Regions from separate parts of the Homo sapiens genome. Here region 1 is linked to region 2. Evidence: promoter capture Hi-C in 16 types of primary human blood cells and fetal thymus (Javierre and others, 2016). All regions are on one chromosome and are shown on one strand. Each heading gives the region's core, a stretch centred on a gene start or on the middle of the fragment in contact. The rest is flanking DNA. Distances are from core to core; before and after follow the strand shown.

Region 1 (4,837 bases), core at 1,514-4,013, 710 kb before region 2:
GTAGAGAGGGAGAAGGTGAAGCAGGAAGTATTCCTACTACTTTCAGTAGTTACTATTTTGAGTCTTAGTCATCTTCTTGCAGTGATACATTTAAACATCTATGGAAATTTTTTATGGCTATGTCCAAATTGTCACAGCAACACTCAGAATTGGGTAATAAATCTACCTTGACTCTGATACAGATGTGGCAAGACTCCCTTCTCCACCTTCTATATCCTGCTATCATAGTTTGTATTTATTGGTTTATATACCCATCTCCCCATAGTCTCTGTGCTCACAGCAGACATTTAAGTATTACTTCCCAAGGAAGGTCTTCCTGGACTCCTAGACCAGGTTAGGATGCCCTGTTAGGTGCCCCACAGCACTTTGAAATGCTACTATCACAGCGCCTGTGGAACATTATTACTTTGCTGCATTCAGGTTGAGAACATTTATCTTCTCTGCATACCATAAGCCGTGAACACAGAACCTGGGCCTGTCTCAGACACAGATGCATTGCCAGTGCATGGCACGGTATGTGGCCCATGGGAGCTGCTCAATATTCAGTTGTTGAATGAGTAAACAAACATATGTCATTCATTTTTATTTGCATTTCTAGCACCTAGCACAGTTCCTAACACAAGCTAAGTGCTCAAAAATGTTGACTTGCATTTAAAAATCTCATTTCTGTCTCTATACAGTTTGCAAAACACTTTTGCTTCCGCTGAGATTGAGATTTGTAACAGCCTTGTGAAGTAGTCAGAACAGGGATTAGCATCCCACTTTGTAGACATGGCTCAGGAAGTTTAAGCAATTGGCTGACAATATCAGGCTAGAGAATACTGAAGAGCTGAGGCCAAAAACATTCAATGACAAGGGCAGCGATGTTTCCTTGTCAATATCACCACTGACAAAAATTAAGTTCAGAGCCCAGGAACTAGCCACAGGTTCAGGGCCTTTCAAAACTTCATACAGCTACTTTTTCAAAGATATTTTCAAATATGCCCACTTGGGGAAATCAAGGTGGGTCATAGGTTTTAGAGGCTCATTTTCTGCATCTTCCCAGGAAGAGACTGTACCACTTTGAGCTTTCATGTTCTCATCTATAAAATGGGAATAGTAATAGTACCCACTTCATAGAGGATTCAATAAAAGTGTTAAACAAAAAAAAAAAAATGTATATGATATGCAGTACAGTAAGTGCTCTACAAATGTTGGCTATTATAAAGGCGGCTGAGAAAAACTGAAATCTTAGGGAAGACTTGGCCTTAACATTGATCCTCATGACCAATTTAATCCAGAGCCTAGCTCCGGAATATTCATGACTTTACAGGAAATACAATGACCAAGGATCCACTCGCCAAAATTCATTTCTAGTTTCAACAGGTGACATTAAACAAGTAATTGTTCTCCTTCCATCACCAGCCTGCCCTACACACTAAATTACTTGTGCTCATGAGAAAAGCTGCATTCCCCTCAGCTCTGCTTTCATGGAAGAACAAGCGCTGGTTTAATCTCTTGTTGACTGCTGCTCTAATTATAGTGATAGAGTGGTGTCCCTGGTAATGGGCCAAGCTGGCCAGCTGTGTTGCAAGTTGTTCAAGATACAGAAGGTGGCACCATCTGAGGCCAAATGGTTACCTTTCATCTCAGTTTCTATATAAAATAATTCTGCATTGTGCTTTGCATAGATGGTGAAACATGGCAAAATCAGGATTTCCCAAGCTGAAGGCGCTGGGATCATTCCCAAGGCTACTGAGTTGCTAATGTATCTGATTTCTGGACATGTGGATTGTTGCAAGCAAGGGCAATAGGCATGATGGCAGGAGAGGCAGAACACTGAATAAAATGATAGATTGGAATTCTGCAGGAAGAGGAGGAGGAGAAGAATCGGATGTTACCCCTTGTACAAAACGTCCCATTATCCCCGGGACTGTGGTGACTGATATCCTCTACAGCCCCTCAGCATTCTGGCATGGTGCTTGTCTTGCTATATTGTAACTGCCTGTTTACTCCTCTGCCTCTGCCTCTGCCTCCAGCTTGTCTGTGAGTTAAGGGTTCTTTCTGTCATCGTTGCATCCCCAGAGCCTAGTACAGAACATACACAGGTAGGTATTTTATAAATACTTGTTGAGTGAGGGATAAAAATTGTCAGGAAACTCATTATTAGGACATGGTTGGGTAGGAACGGGGAAGGAAGCACTAAATTTGAGGTTAATCGGGGCATGGTGCCTCCTAATTTCAGTTAGTCATATGACTCATTTTCAAATTTCACACGTCCTGCCCCCACTCAGAGTTGGTTCAGGAGAAAGATGGCCCACCAGTTACCCTTTCTGTGGGAAGCTGGAGGAGCAACGGTGGTGCTCATGGCACAGGCGCTGACACCAGCCGTATCAGAAACTCAAGTGTCTTAAGGCTGTGGGGGCCACACCTGACCCCAACAGGAAGAGCTCTCAGGCTGGCATGTCCCCAGGATGGGGCAAATTAGAAAGGAGGTTCAAGACACAGTGTCACTAGGGACCTGGATCCAGGGCACTAGAGGCCAGGCCTCCAGCTGTGATCACAGCTGGGCCACATTACAGACCCACAGAAGGCCTATGGCAAGATCCCACCCTTCCTTGGCTCAGCTTCTTCCTCTACCAGCCTGACGGGAAGTTGCACATGGAGGAAGAACTGTGCAAGCAGTGAAAGGAGCACCGGGCTGGGCATCAGGAGGCCCAGCTTTCAAGTCTTTACACAGCGTGACCAGCTGCCTGACCTCTGGCAAGACAGGGAACCTCTCTGGGTCTTGGTTTCCTCACCTGCAAAATGGAGCTTGGGAAACAGTAGCTCCACGTATGCCACAGATGAGAAAGAAATGAGTCCTCAGCTCCAAGGCCAAGTTAGTTTGATCCCAATTCCAAACATCTATGGACACTTATAGCAGATTGTCCTGTTGGACAGTTGGACTCCTGCCTCAGGACGAGAGAAACAGTCCCACATCTTCCCCTTAGCACAAAGCCTGGGGTGATAGACCCATGGGCGAGGTAAAGGGAGACAGAAGGAAATGCCTCCAAGATGCCTCTCAGAGTGTGGGCACTCCGCCCATTTGTCAGCCCTTCACCTCATGCCCCAGCCGGGTCCTTTCTTTCATGCAGCACTCCCACCAGCCAAGCTCTCCCAGGACAACCTCGGAGGAAGGAGGAAGGGCTCTATTTCCCATTTCATGTTAAGAGCTCAGCCTCAGAGCTGCATGCAGGGCAAGGCCACATACGGCAAACAAAGTGGTGCTGTTAGGGCTTGATCCCACGTGCCGAACACAAGCTCAGCTCCTGTTGTAATTCTCTTAGAGTCTGAGGCGGAATATTAAAATCAGTAAAACTATTTTCAAACAAGCACAGTCATCTTAATTGGATAAAAATGGAGTATTTTTAAAATGATAAACATGAAACTAAAAACTCTGGAAAAGTCTGAGACAGATTAAAATGCTTAAAGACGCATAAAAATGTACAACGTGTCCCTATGGTATGTTCATATTATCAACGTGTTTTGTTTTGTTTCCAACGAACGTGTCTTTTGGCTTAACTTTTTTTTTTCTTTGAGACAGGGTCTCACTCTGTTGCCCAGGCTGGAGTGCAGTGGCATGGTCTCAGCTCGCTGTAGCCTTGACCTCCTGGGCTCAGGTGATCCTCCAGCCTTAGCCTCCTGAGTAACTGGGATCACAGGCACCATGTCTGGCTAATTTTTCAACTTTTTGTAGAGACGGGATCTCACTTTGTTGCCCAGGCTGGTCTCAAACTCCTGGGCTCAAGCAATCCTCCCACATCAGCCTCCCAAAGTGCTGGGATTACAGGTGTGAGCCACTGTGACAGGGCTTAACTTAAAAACAAAACAGTTTACCCTCTGGAATTGATCCAGAATCTTGAGTCAGACTTGCAAGGATTCTAACTTGAGGAAATGGGGTTAGCAGAAAACAAGGAGTAATTTCATAGTTGTAGGATCTTTAGAAATCCTCTACCCAATATGCTCCCTGAGTCAGAGTTCTCTCACTCTCCCACATCCCTTAAAAGCTGTTGGCACTATCTCCTTGAATACCCACAGTGGTGGGATACTCACTACCTTCTATCATACTGGTTACATTGGACAGAAGTATCCCTCACTTTTTTTTTTTTTTTTTTTTTTGAGACGGAGTCTCGCTGTCTCCCAGGCTGGAGTACAGTGGTGCGATTTCAGCTCACTGCAAGCTCCGCCTCCCGGGTTCACGCCATTCTCCTGCCTCAGCCTCCCAAGTAGCTGGGACTACAGGCGCCCGCCACCACCCCCGGCTAAATTTTTTTGTATTTTTAGTAGAGACGGCATTTCACCGTGTTAGCCAGGATGGTCTCGATCTCCTGATCTCGTGATCCGCCTGCCTCGGCCTCCCAAAGTGCTGGGATTACAGGCGTGAGGCACCGCGCCCGGCCAACTATCCCTCACTTTTATGTTTATAATCGGTCCTTTTTCCTTGGTTATGGCGCCACAAAAATTCCAGTGAATTCTCTCTTCTACTTCACCGCCCATTAGATACTTGAATGGATAATGGTACCCCTAAGTGTGTTGTCCCCCTGATTAAACATCCCCAGCTCTTTCAACCATCCCTCAGTTGGTGTGGAAACCAAGTGGAGGAGATGCTGCTGTTGTGGGAGCCAGACAGAGCTAGCTTTATATCCCAGCTCTTGCCAAGTAGCCTTGGCTAAGTCACACAATCTTTCTGCAATTCTACTACTATTTTGTAAGGCTGTTAAGAAGACTAAATGAGAGAATGTGTGTAAAGCATATGGTATGGTGTTTGCCTTAGGGTGGGTGTTTTGTATAGTGATAGGTGCCAATATTGTTATGG
Region 2 (4,882 bases), core at 433-2,932:
AGGAACTTGTGCGCGTGCGCATGCGCATTACAGCGCGCAGGGCGAAGCCGATTAGTCTAGCGGCCTCCGGCCGTTGGGAAGCGGGCATCGGGCCAGAAGGCAGAAGGCTGAGAAGCCCCGCCCGTAAGCAGAGGCAATCTGGAGCTATGCAGCTCAGTGGGTGAGAGGGAGGGAGCTGGGATTCAGACTTCAGACCTAATGAATGCCCCGAAGCAGACGCCAGCAACGTGAAGCCTAGCTGGCAGCCTCCCAGGTCTGGCGCGCAGCCAGCGCCAGACTTTAAATCGCAATACTAGAAACCAGGGCCTGTTAACCAACCGGGAGGGAGGCGCACGGTGTGGCTTCGGCCGTGATCCTTGTTGCAAAGGCCTGTCAGGCCCAGTATGAAGAAATAGTTTCAGTACAGGGAGTGTAGAAATAGCTGCAGAAGGCCTGAGGCCTGCAGCCCTAGAGTTAATAGCTACTTGGTGGAACCCTCGAATTCTTTCCACCTTGTTAATCCAACCCTGCACTGCATTCGCTGGAGGAAATATCACAGGCTGCATCCCCAAAGTATCACGTCTAGTTTTGACACCACTCCAAAGGGCAAAAATCCGAGAGGACCTCTAGGCAGGCAGTCAGCCCAGAGTCACCAAGCTGGAGCCGGGTCTCTCCTTACAAATCACTGCTATTTCTAGACAGCCTTGTAAGGTTTCTAGCCTGGCAGGGGGAAGGGAGTTCCTGCGGACACCTGCTAGCTTCACTGAACGGCCCCGGGATCCAATGCTACCTTTAATGTAGGGGCGGAGGTGGGAGGGCATGGGATGAGGGAAGGGTGCGTCTAGAGGCGAGAGACATGCAAAAACGAGTTCTACACCTCACCTCTGCCTCCTACTCACTGGGAACTTAGAGATCCCTGACTGTCTCCTAGCTTTCGGTCTCCCTATTTGTTAAAAGGAGGAGTTGGTACCGGCGGATCCTACTCAACTGACCGTCTGAGGTGCGGAAGGGCTGGGATGCTGCCTGCTTCATCTTTGCATGCGCCGTGCCTAGCGCAGCCCGAGATACACCAGTAGCTTCTTAATAAATGCGCAAAGGGCTCCCTATAATCTGCAGGCAGCAGCTGCCCTCACGGAGCCCACCTCTCGAGCGTCCCAAGAGAAAAATGCAAGCCGCGTGGTACTCAGCCGCTTTCCGTCTTTCAAGAACCCGCCCCGGACAAGCTGAGGCTTTTTTGGCTCTATGGGCTCCGAGAACTGGACCTCGAGTTTTGCACCGCCCGCCGATTTCGAGCCCAGAGGTATCCCCCACCCTTAAGGCCTATCATATCCTTGTTCCGCATCCACCCGGGCTTTCGACCCCTGCTTGGGTGCGGCCACCTCCTCGGTTCCCCAGCGTGGCCAGAAGCCATGGTTCCCGCTTAGAGCAAAAGCAGAGCGCGGCGAGCTCCGAACACATGCGTTGTGTGGGCCGCCGCCCAGACGTCTCTGGGCTGTGCTTCTGGAAAGCGGCTCCTACACCTCCCGGGAGCAGGAATCCCTTCGCGAGCAGCGGAGGCCAGCAGAACCAGAGGCAGTTGGCTCTACCCGCCCATCCCTCTGGCGCCGTGCGCGCAGGGCCCTACCGTACCGGGAATGCACGTCGGGCGGTCGTCGGGGGCGCGTGGCAATGAGATCCGGAATCGGCGGCAGCGGCTGCAGCACTCTGAGCTGGGCGCGGGAGGGGCCTTAAGTGGAACAGCTATGCTGACGTCAGCGGGGGGGGCCGGCGGACGTGCGGGAACCCACGTGTGAGTCGGGCTGGGGGTGGATGCCGAGCCAGGCGGGGCACTGGAGAGGCCCGGGTGGCGCGCGCAGCCAGACAACCGACCGGCAGACTGCTCCACGTGCGCTGGGAGTCTAAGTAAGGTGCTGCCCTCCAACCACAGAAGCCGGGGTCGGAGCCATGAGCCTGAGTCAGGACGACCTTCAGTTTCCTCATCCATGAAACCTGGGGAGGTTACTCTCAGGAAGGCTTGGATCTGTTTCTTCTTCATCCCTGTTTCTCAGTGTCCAGAACAGCTTCTGGCACGTAATAGGCACTCCACAAATATTTGTTGAACGAAAGGAAGAAAATGCCTAGCAGTCAGTCAGTCTGTTCTTACCTAAGTCGAGTGACCTCCAAAACTCGACGCTGCTTTTCCCTCTGCTGCTAAGCCTACCAGCTCCCACTCACAGTGAAGCCTTGGCCTCTCAGGCCTTGCAGGGTGACTCAGTTCAAATGTACATTTTATTCTGCACTTTCTACTGCCCACCCCACTGGCATCTCATCTCGAGTCTCAACCATACCCAAGAACTGTCAGTGGCTTGTTTTTTTGGTTTTGGTTTTTTGTTTGTTTATTTGTTTTTTGGTATTTTTCGAGACAGGGTCTCACTCTGTCACCCAGGCTGGAGGGCAGTGGCGTGATCATGGCTTCCTGCAGCCTCGACCTTCTGGCTCAAGCGATCCTCCCACCTCGGCTCCCCGAAGTGACTGGGACTACAAGCGCGCCCACTTGCCCTGCGATTTTTTTTTTAATTATTAATTTTTTTTTTTTTGAAACGGAGTCGCTCTGTCGCCCAGGCTGGAGTGCAGTGGGCTGATCTCGGCTCACTGCAACCTCCGCCTCCCGGGTTCAAGCGAATCTCCTGCCTCAGCCTCCTGAGAAGATGGGATTACAGCCAGGCGCCACCACGCCCGGCTAATTTTTGTAATTTTTAGTAGAGACGGGGTTTCACCATGTTGGTCAGGCTGATCTCAAACTCCTGGCCTCAAGTGATCTGGCCGCCTCGGCCTCACAAAGAGCTGGGATTACAGGCGTGAGCCACCGTGCCCAGCTCAATTTTTTGTTTTCTTATCATACTTACCTCTGGGCCTGTATTCTTGCTGATTCCATTGCCTAGCCCGCCCTCCTCCATCTCTTCTTTAATTTGTACCAATACTTCCCCACTGTGGGGTATATTATGAAATATATTTGGTAAGCCCTTGAGTATGCCAAAATTTCCTGAATTTTCTGATAGGAATGTCTTTTGTTATTTATAAAGAGCCTTTTTCCCTGACTTAATGTTAATGAATGAGGAGTCTTAGATAGCCTCAGGAAGGAGCCAGTCATGGGAAAGACCAAATGATTAGGGAATTAGAGGGCTGGAACTTTCAGCCCAAAGGGGTGGATGGCTTTACTTACTCCCTGAACCTACAGCAGCAGCCCAGTGCAGCTTTGAGATAGATCCATAACTGAGTTTCTTGGTTTTGACGGAAAACTCTAACCTCAGCTCCAAAATAGCACAAGGGGCCAGGTGCAGTGACTCATGCCTGTAATCCCAGCACCAATGTGGTTGAGGTGGGAGGACTGCTTGAGGCCAGGAGTTCGAGACTAGCCTGGGCAGCATAGTGAGACCCTGTCTCAAAAAAAAAAAAAAAATAGCAGGGCATGCTTGCATGTTCTAACAGTTTTCCCATCACTCTAGATTCTAAGATCACTCTAGGTTCTGAAATGGGGCTCTCACCTCAAACACACAGCTGGAAAGTTTAGGGGTGGGCCACTGATTCTTCAGAGTACCTCAGGGCAGGGCAGATTGCCACAGTGTTTTCCGGTTTCTCAGTCTTTGCAACAGTGTTCTCAGTCAGGGCTGGGCCCCTGCCTGCCTACCAAATGTGACCACTGCTGCTGGGAAGAGGTGTGCAGAAGGCAGAGAGCTGAAGTTGGCTGGGGAGACGAAGAATTTTCACCTGAAAGGCTTGGGTTGGGGCACTCTGAGATGACCTGTGAAGATAAACTAGGTAGAGTCTTCATTCCCCTAATTTATGATACCTAGCAACAGCTTGCTCCAAGCACAGCTTCAGGCTTCTTAGGCAGAACAACAGCCAGTATTTGACTCCACAAATATGAATAAAACAAATACCATTTACTGAGCACCTGCTATGGTGCTGGCAGCCAGCTAGGTAATCCCCATACTCATCCTTTGGAGTAGGCATAATTATCCCCATTTTTCAGATATGGAAACCAAGGCTCAGAAAGGTAAGTGACTTTGCTAAGGTAGTGCAGCTAGTAAGTGATTTTGGCTGAGACTTTAACCCAGTGCTGACTAACCCCAAAGCCTATGATTTTCTCTCTATTATAGGATGTTGTCCCACATCACTCCATACAAAGGGCAAGAAATTATCTAGGGGGCCCAAACCAGTCCCAGGCTCAGAAGAGGCTGTGGGTGCCAATGGGTGTATCTGCTGAGACCTTGGTATTCTGCCCTTAGACTGGGACTTAGACCCTTGGCTCTCCTGATTCTCAGGCCTTTGGGCTCGAACTGGAATTTATACCACCAGCTTTCCTGAGTCTCCAGCTTGCAGATGGCAAGATCATGGGACTTCTCTGCCTGCATAAACACATAAGTAAATTCCTCCTCATAAATCTCTTTATATATATTCTTCCATTGGTTCTGTTTCTCTGGAGAACCCTGACTAATATAGAACCCTGACTAATACAATCCAAACAGTAGAACTTCTGTACTAAAGCCAGAGAAGAATGTGGAACCCTTGGAACAGGTCAGAAAACACTTTCAGGGGACAGAACAGAATTCTTAATCTGACCAAGTGTTCTTTGGATGTGGCCTCTTCAAAAGGGAAAACCCCTAGCACAGTCACTATGGAAAACAGTATGGAGACCCCTCAAAAAACTAAAACTGCAACTTCCATATGATCCAGCAATCTGAGTATATATCCAAAAGAAACGAAATCAGTATATCAAACAGATATCTGCACTCCCATGACTATTGCAGCACTATTCACAATAGCTGAAGTATGGATGAACTCAATCTAAGTGTCATCAATGGATGGATGATAAAGAAAATGTGTTGGCCAGGTGCAGTGGCTCATGCCTCTAATCCCAGCA

Evidence for each region. Contacts are between HindIII fragments. The CHiCAGO score rates a contact against its expected background, and 5 or more counts as called.
Region 1: a contact is called between a fragment that was not itself captured here and the fragment with the promoter of LDHA in region 2, in 1 of 17 cell types (neutrophils). The highest score is 5.7, in neutrophils.

The regions. Positions count from the first base shown.
Region 1 is chr11:19,107,195-19,112,031 of GRCh38, reverse strand. No RefSeq gene overlaps it. Among named protein-coding and RNA genes, the nearest start is that of ZDHHC13, 7.6 kb to the left of the region's middle. The HindIII fragment of the contact is 5,919 bases long and covers 1-4,837 here.
Region 2 is chr11:18,391,363-18,396,244 of GRCh38, reverse strand. It overlaps LDHA (lactate dehydrogenase A), which reads right to left and starts at 1,682. Exons shown (of 8, transcript NM_005566.4): 1 at 1,609-1,682. RefSeq lists enhancers at 1-322, 1,587-1,676, 1,057-1,722, 1,987-2,076, 1,723-2,387 and a silencer at 777-826. The HindIII fragment of the contact is 13,104 bases long and covers 1-4,882 here.